Regions from separate parts of the Homo sapiens genome. Here all the other regions are linked to region 1. The links are contacts of gene promoters, found by promoter capture Hi-C in blood cells and fetal thymus (Javierre and others, 2016). All regions are on one chromosome and are shown on one strand. The core of a region is centred on a gene start or on the middle of the fragment in contact, and the rest is flanking DNA. Distances in the headings are between cores, read along the strand shown. Region 1 holds the start of PRPF39 (pre-mRNA processing factor 39). Region 2 overlaps LOC105370461 (a long non-coding RNA gene). Region 3 overlaps GEMIN2 (gem nuclear organelle associated protein 2).

What was found. The method cuts DNA at HindIII sites, captures the fragments that hold promoters and counts their contacts. A CHiCAGO score of 5 or more calls a contact.
Region 2: a contact is called between a fragment that was not itself captured here and the fragment with the promoter of PRPF39 in region 1, in 9 of 17 cell types (total CD8 T cells, naive CD8 T cells, total B cells and 6 more). The highest score is 15.8, in total CD8 T cells.
Region 3: a fragment that was not itself captured here is called in contact with the fragment with the promoter of PRPF39 in region 1 in 12 of 17 cell types (total CD4 T cells, activated CD4 T cells, total B cells and 9 more); the score reaches 23.9 in total CD4 T cells.

What each region holds. Positions count from the first base shown.
Region 1 is chr14:45,082,686-45,085,385 of GRCh38, forward strand. It overlaps PRPF39 (pre-mRNA processing factor 39), which reads left to right and starts at 1,431. Exons shown (of 14, transcript NM_017922.4): 1 at 1,431-1,564. PRPF39-DT (PRPF39 divergent transcript) reads right to left here and starts at 1,341. Exons shown (of 2, transcript NR_184211.1): 1 at 787-1,341; 2 at 363-702. RefSeq lists a silencer at 1,136-1,425. The HindIII fragment of the contact is 5,294 bases long and covers 1,109-2,700 here.
Region 2 is chr14:39,439,587-39,442,286 of GRCh38, forward strand. All of the region lies in intron 1 of LOC105370461 (a long non-coding RNA gene), which reads left to right. Among named protein-coding and RNA genes, the nearest start is that of FBXO33, 8.5 kb to the left of the region's middle. The HindIII fragment of the contact is 8,991 bases long and covers 1-2,700 here.
Region 3 is chr14:39,120,832-39,123,531 of GRCh38, forward strand. It overlaps GEMIN2 (gem nuclear organelle associated protein 2), which reads left to right. Exons shown (of 10, transcript NM_003616.3): 5 at 1,599-1,712. Among named protein-coding and RNA genes, the nearest start is that of GEMIN2, 7.9 kb to the left of the region's middle. The HindIII fragment of the contact is 5,325 bases long and covers 1-2,700 here.

The sequences.
Region 1 (2,700 bases), core at 181-2,680:
AAACAAACAAAAAACATGGCCACACTGTCAGAGAATCCAAAAAAGTTAGCTTGGAAAGTAGAAGAGGCAAATGGAAAGGGAAAGCTACTACTAGGTGCAGTGTGATGCAAGTAAAAGGTAGGAAAAAAGACTGAATTTGGTATTTCGAACGAAAGGTGCTGGTGAGAGGATTTATGATTAACCTGCGTTGTGACAAGAAACGTCGTCTTGTAAATAAGTATTTCCAGAGGAGACAGATTTCAGATGAGGAACTTGGAGCCCAGTAGTAATACTAATGCACCTGGAACAACAGATTACATGGTAAGTGACAGGTGAATGCGGGGGCACCAATGTAACAGAATCTTAAAGGGAGAGAGGCCAGATTTGAAAGAAAATTTTTTTTTATTAAAGTGGAGATGGTGGTACAACTGAAGAGGACTGCTAAGATTGTTAACGCACAGTCCCCCTCAATTTGTCCAGAGGATAACATATCCCTTCAGATACAAAGATTTTTTTTTTTGCTTGGCCAACTTTAGTCAGGTTTCTGAATCTTCTGCTAGGCTCTTCTGTACACTTTCTTTGTAAAATCCAGTTTAAGCAAAGAACTTTGCTAAGTCAGATTAGCAATAAACCCCCATCCTTGATAGCTGATCATCCTCAATATCTGATCAGGTTCTTCAGTCTCCACCATCCCCCAGGTGATGCCTCATTATCTTGGCCTGTCTTCAGCAAAAATCCTATTAGGTGGGTTTAGCCAAAATCCCCCTTACCCTGATGTTTCCTCTTAGTAATTATACATTCACTTACCACCGCTCCTTGGCTATAAATCTCCACTTGCCCATGCTGTATGAGGAGTTGAGCCCAATATCTCTTTCCCTACTGCAAGTCTCCATTGCAGTCAGTGGTCCCTATACCTGTTGCGATGGTCCTGAATAAAGCCCTCTTTTTGTGCTTTAACAAGTGTCACTAAATACTTTTTTCTTTAACAATAGCCCGTTCTCCAAACCCCTAACTCCAGAACTGTTTAGTTTTCAGGAAACCTGAGTGGGCCCAGGGTCTATACCATCGTGAGATTTGTGGGTTTAAGGCTGAATTTCTGCCCGTTTTTAGGTAAATGTTTTAGTGTGAAAGCTTGAACAATTGTAGGGAAAACCTTAGATTTGCCCCCAAAAATGACATTTTGCCGTTTTTGGTGGGGAGGGGTCAGGGCGCTGTGTTTAAGATCAGGCGTGTGAAAGCCCCTAAACGCCCTCCTTTCCTTTGGGAAGTCCCTATGGAGGGAAAGGCAGGTAGGCGCAGCGGTCCCCGCCCTCGCTCGCGGCGGGGCGGGGCGGGGCTGCGGGGGCGGGGCTGGGGCCGCACGGGCAGCGAGGATCCCTGGGAGGGCCAGGCCTGCGCGCTGCGAACCCACGTGACTTTTTCGCCTCCAGGGACACTGACGCATGCGCATCGTGCCCTGGACCAGGCGGCCGTGGCGCGGGTGGCGGCTGCTGTGCTGGCTGTGGGGACGGAGGCGGTGAAGTGCCATCTTCGGCTAGGTCGTCACAGGCTCCGGCTCATGGCATCAAGTGGCATCCATCATAAGGTCTGCTGGGGCGGGCTCCTTGAAATTAGCTGGGGCAGAGGGTGGTACTTGGTACTGAAAGGGGCCTGCCGGGTTTCAGGCCGCGCTCTGGCCGCGGCCTCCCTCTCCCGCCCTGTTTGAGGCCTGGCTCGGATTCAGCGCTCAGCTGTCCATTCCTTTCTCCTTCCCACCTGTTGGGTGGAGCGGTGCAAGGTATTTTTTTCTTAGACCAAACGTTTCACTTGAGGGGTGCGTTAGGTAGGGTGGAGAAGTGTGGGCCTCCTTCGCCTGGATTTAGGAAGATATTTGGGGGTAATTCTAAAGCCCTTGCTTCTCCCGGAGCTGGAACACGGCTGGGGTGGCTGGAAGTGGAAGGAGCACATTTGCAGCCGCCAGAGGATTGGGAAGATAATATACGTTCTATTACTAAGGCATGTGAGCGCCTTGTAGGGCACGTTCTGTCTTCTGACTACATAAGCAACACTTTTGCGACCCTAAGTCACAGCACCCACAGCTTTTGGCAGGATACTTTAAAACAGAAAAAACACATCATTGATCCTGGCAGGATTTTTTAAGGGATTGTGCTTAAGAATGTTTAACTTTGGTAATCAGAGACCACCACTGGTGTTTTTCTCCAAAATCACATCTTTAAGTTAATTAATACTTGAAGTTAATAAATAATACTGCTCAGTGTATTAGTAATGATGCCATAATACCATGTGAATTTATGCTGATTCAAATGTTGTTTTTTTCGTTTGATACTCATATGGCCTTCTGTTTGAGGACTTCAGATTATTTAGCAACTGATTTAATCTGTTCAGAAATAAACTTTGCTACAGCTGGAAAGCGTGAGGCTTGAGAAAGCAAGTTTTGGACAGGGACGTATGAAGCTCATGTTGAAACTTAAGTGTTTTAGGCTGTATGGGAGCTTGAATGGAGTGAAAAGAACAAGCGTCTACTGTCAGGTTTTCCTCCTCCCTCTAGATTTATAACCTCATTCTAGAGTTGCAAAAGTTGGAACTTTCCACTGTTCACTCTCTAGTAGGGATAAAGTGATGGAAAGGAGTTCTGTTAAAGAGGACTAGTACTTAGATTGTGAACTTTGAAGTAGGGGTTGAGCATAGATGGCTCATAGGTGGTATGAGACACTATTTGTG
Region 2 (2,700 bases), core at 60-2,559, 5.6 Mb before region 1:
CATCTGTTTACTCCCTTTTTGTAAAATATGAAGATGTATTTCAATTACATTACTCTCTTTCCCTCTTCCATATTCCTACCAATATTTGATAATCGTAATATTTTGTTTTTCTCTTGGTTTTTTTTTTGGAGATGGAGTCTTGCTCTATTGCCAAGGCTGGAGTATAGTGATGTGATCTTGGCTCACTGCAGCCTCCATCTTCTGGTTCAAGCAATTCTCCTGCCTCAGCCTCCTGAGTAGCTGGGACTCCAGGTGTGCATCACCACACCTGGCTAATTTTTGTATTTTTAGTGGAGATGGGTTTCACCATGTTGGTCAGGCTAGTTTTGGACTCCTGGCCTCAAGTAATCTTCCTGCCTCAGCCTTCCAAAGTGCTGGGTTTATAGGCATGAGCCACCGTGTCCAGCCTCTTGGTTGTTCTTACATTAATCAGCTTTTGCTACATAGCAGTCACAATCTTCTGTCTATAATTGGCTAGATTATAGTATGTTAGATAAATATTAGGCAAATATTCACTTTTTTCCCCTTTACCCACCTTTATGGAAAAAGCATACTTTCTCCCATGATTATTGATGTTGGATTTGGGTCTTACGATTTGTGTAAAGTTAATTTTTCCTGTCTTTCGTTTATAAGAAGGGCTCTAATTAATAAAGATGCTAGTTTCTATAAAAGGGAAACCTGAAGATCTTAATGTCAACAAAATAGCCGTGTATTTTTTCACTCCTTTAACTGTCCACTGAAGGTGTTCTTAGCAGGCGGCTTTCCTTCATGTGATGATTCAGTGACCCTAATTCCTTCTGTTTTATAGTTATACCATCCTTAAAATGCCCTGTGATTCTCTGTCTCTTGTAATGGAAGGGGAAGAGAGAATGGAGAAGGCACTTCTTAATTGCCGTAGCAAGGAAATGACAGATTACTTCCTACATTCATTGGCTAAAACTAGACACATGGTCTTGCCTAGACATAAAGGGTCTGAGAGATGAAGTTTTGCCACAAAGGAGGCCTATCCTTTTATTACTATTTTTGGCTGAAGGTAAATACTAGGGTCCTTGTATTTGCTGTGGACAGAGATGGAAGAAAACGGTGGATTTGTTTAGTATAGTTTTCTTGTATTCAGATCTTTAGTTAATCTCTATTCCTAGCTAACCTTCTCACTCTTTCCTTAATGTTCCTTAGAGATAGTTCCTCAGGTGCACTGAACCCAGAATCTCTAAGGTTTCAGTGCACAGGACAGCTTTTATCTCAATTGCAGCTTCCTCCTAGTGATGGTGGCGGCTCATCTGGAGCAGCTGCTGCGGTGAAGGCCGCTGCAGTAGGAGGGGGTGCACCTGGGGCTGTGCCCTCTGTGGAGCCCGTAGGGGGTGGGAACAGGTGATCCCAGTGGAAGCCTCACACTCTACCAAATTGGTGGGGCAGGAGCCTGCACTTCTAGGTGCAGCTGTAACCACCCAGCCATGGCTCCAGACCTGGGCATCCCTGTGCTCTCTGGGGCCCAGGGAGCCTCTTGCCCCCGCAAGTTCGGAAGTGCCTGCTCCCACTCTCCCTGGCCTCTCCCTGCTCTCAGTTTCCACTCTGGTGTGGAGCAAAGTTATAGCTTAGCCCAGGCACTGTCGTGACCCAGCCAGGTGTGTGCATGCCTGGGGCAACACTGACACACCAACTCCCACTGCCGCCTTGAGCACTGATGAGCTCAGAGGGAGCTGAAACTCTGAAACTTTGGGCACTGATGAACTCAAGAGGGAGACCGGGGGTGCTGAGGGCAGCTTGGTGTGGGCCTGTGGGCTCCCCTCAGCATGGACAGCCTGGGCACAAATGGCATGTTGATGGCAACAGGAGGCAGACAGATTCCTAGGTGGGAAGGGGCAGGTCCTTGGTGAAACCCCGTCTTGAAGCCAGGGATGGCCTGAAGCCTGGGGGCCAGGCTGCCAATTACGGGTGGAGTCCGCGGCCCAGAGTGAGAACTTACGGTGCTTTTTCCATGCCTGCCCATGGCTACCCATGGATCAATCAGCATGCACTTCCTCCCTTCTGAGCCCATAAAAACCCTAGACTCATGCAGACTCAGATACTCTTCAGGATGACCTGCCAGTGGAAAGGAGCTACCCACTACACGTCTTCTCTCTACTGAGAGCTGTTCTGTTGCTCAATAAATCTCTGCCTTGTTCACCTTCCAGTTGTCCATGTTACCTCATTCTTCATGGACATGGGACAAGAACTAGGATATCACTGAATGGTAGGTGTGAAAGGAGCTGTAATGCTTTCCTGGCCCGCTTGCCAAGCTGCAGGCAGTGACACGCTCCTGGACTATGAGAGTGAAGAGTGGTAACCCTTCTGGGGACCCAGACCTTGGGATTTCCTGAGGTAGAGCTGCTGTAACACTGTAGCACTTCCACCCTTTGTTGGCGCCGGGTGGCCGCCCCATGCAGTGGGAAGCAGCAGTGGGGCTGGGCCAGCCACGGGCTGCAGTTGTGGTGGTGGGACTGAAAGAGCTATAACACAAATGGGCTTAAACACTCCCCACTGAAACTTGCTGCCATCCCCTGCTCTCTGCACTGCAGGCAATGAGAAGGAGAGAAGAGCTGTAGCCCTTCTGGAAGCCCAGACCTTGGGGCTTCCTAAGCCAGAGCTGTGACATGCTATAACACCCTCTTTGGATGCTCTGTGGTTCCTGGCATCTCCGGGCTTTTGGGCGCCACCTTG
Region 3 (2,700 bases), core at 201-2,700, 6.0 Mb before region 1:
TTCCAGGCTAGTCTCGAACTCCTGACCTCAGGTGATTCATCCTAAGGATTTAATGAAAGCTACTTATCCCTAGGGGGAAAATGCACCTATGCAAAGTAATATACAAGGTGATATGTACAAACAAAGGTTATTTTGTTAAGGAGGTTATATTGAGCTGAATGCTTCTCCCAAATAGTCCTGCGTCCTGCTTTTTCTGTCTGGCAGCATGAGTAGATCTGTTTCTTCTTTGACTGGACAACCCTTCAAATATGTGAAATATGTAATCATGTCTCTTTACATGGGATAAATATCCTTCATTCTATTAAGTGTTCTTGGTGCATTTTTTCCCCCATACTTATTTCTGTCTTTATCATCCTCTTTTGGACACACCATTGTCTGTCAGTGTCCACTAAAGTCTTGTCCAAACTAAACACATCTTGGCTGGGCACAGTGGCTCACACTTGTAATCCCAGCACTTTGGGAAGCCAAAGCAGAAGAATTGCTTGAGGCCAGGAGTTTGAGACCAGCCTGGGCAACATAGTGAGACAACTATCTCTACAAAAAAAATTTAAAAATTATCAGGCATGGTGGCACATGCCTGTAGTCCCAGCTACTCAAGAGGCTGAGGTGGCAGAATTATTTGAGCCCGAGATTCAGGCTGCAATGAACTGTAATCACACCTCTGCACTCCAACTTGGGCGACAGAGCAAGACCCTGTCTCAAAAAATGTAATAATAAGGAAAAACAACATGTCCCACATATTGTGTAGCCACTTAGGCACTATGTTTGTCAGGGCTGCCATAACAGACTAGGTGGATTAAACAACAGAAATGTATTTATTTTCTCAGTCTTGAAGGCTGAAAGTCAAAGAACAAGGTGGCAGCAAGGTTGGTCTCTTTTTGTTTGTTTGTTTGTTTTTTGAGGCAGAGTTTCGCTCTTGTTGCCCAGGCTAGAGTGCAATGACGCAATCTCTGCTCACTGCAGCCTCCGCCTCCCAGGCTCGAGTGATTCTCCTGCCTCAGCCTCTGGGTAGCTGGGATTACAGGTGTGCACCACCACATCCGGCTAATTTTTTTTTTTTTTGTATTTTTAGTAGAGGTGGGGTTTTGCCATGTTGGCCAGGCTGGTCTTGAACTCCTGACTTCATGTGATCGCCTGCCTCGGCCTCCCAAAGTGCTGGGATTACAGGCGTGAACCACCGCACCCGGCCTAAGGTTGGTCTCTTCTGAGGCTTTTCTCCTTGGCTTGCATAGGGCCACCTTCTCCCTGTTTTCTCACGTGGTCTTTCCTCTGTGTGTGGGAGTCCCTGGTGTCTCTTTGTGAATCCAAATTTCCTCTTATAAGGACACTAGTAAGATTGGATTACGGCTCACCCTAATGGCCTCAATTTAAATTAATCACTTCTTTAAAGGCCCTGTCTCCAAATACAGTCACATTCTGAGGTACTGGAGTTTAAGGTTTTAACATACAAATTTGGGGGCAGAGATTCTCCCCATAACTGGCTCCGTATCTTTGGGTTGCGGTAATGGGAATATGGAAGGACTTAACTTCTTTTTTTTTACTGTTCAGTGTAAAAATTAATACACAGGAATAAATCAGTTTTTTTTTTTTTCTTTTAGCCAAAATCTGAAGATGAAGAAGGCTGGAAGAAATTTTGTCTGGGTGAAAAGTTATGTGCTGACGGGGCTGTTGGACCAGCCACAAATGAAAGTCCTGGAATAGATTATGTACAAGTAAGGGCTGTGTGGATAAACAGAACAAAAAGCATTTTAATTTTGGTGCACCACTTAATATAAGGGGTCAGCAAACTCTACCCTGGGCCAAGTCCAGTTCATGGCCTTTTTTATATCCATGAGCTAAGGATTGTTTTTAGGTTTTGAAAGAGTAAAAAAGAAACAAATAATATGTGGCTGAGACTTTATGTGGCCTGCAAAGCCTAAAATATTTGCTGTCTGACTCTTGATAGAAAATGTTTGCCAACCCAGACTTAGTTTATTAGCTCTTCAACCTAACAAAACAGCTTAGTTTCTGAAACAATTTACTGTGACTTTTTTTAGTTTGGCTTCATATCCCTTATGTTTGGCTTGGTAATCATTTTATGAGTTGGATAAGATTCATAGTTTTTTTAAATGATGAGGCATCAGGCAAACAGTGTTATGAGTAGCCAGGGAAAAAATGGAAATCGACACAATTAGATGCTTTAAAATGCATAATCACATCTATCACTTCATGGGCCTGTAAAAAATAAATCACATATTCTAAAGATGAAATGTTGAGGATATCTTTAAAATTCATGTGGCTGTAATCATAAGTTATGTAGACAACTCCTTGTCCTTCAGGATTTACCTGCCCCCAAGTTTGCAGGTGTTCCTTGAGAATCCAGTGCATGCCTCTGCATTAGCGCTTACTCCCTATAGCATGTAGTTCTTTTCAGTTCAACAGGTATTTATTATTTGCTATATGGTGCCACATTGTGTTTTTCACATTTAAAACTAATTTTTCCTAAAAATGTAAAAAGCCCCAAGAATCAATAAAAAGACCAAGAATCACCCCTCCCCTGCCCAAGAAAAAATAGCCAAAGGATATAGATACCTCACAGAAAGGAAATAAAATTATTCTTATATGACAAGATGCCAAAAATCACTTGTAATAGAAGTATAACATAACTATGCCAAGGTGCTATTTTTCAGGTAACATATTGGCCAAGAAAGTTTGATACAC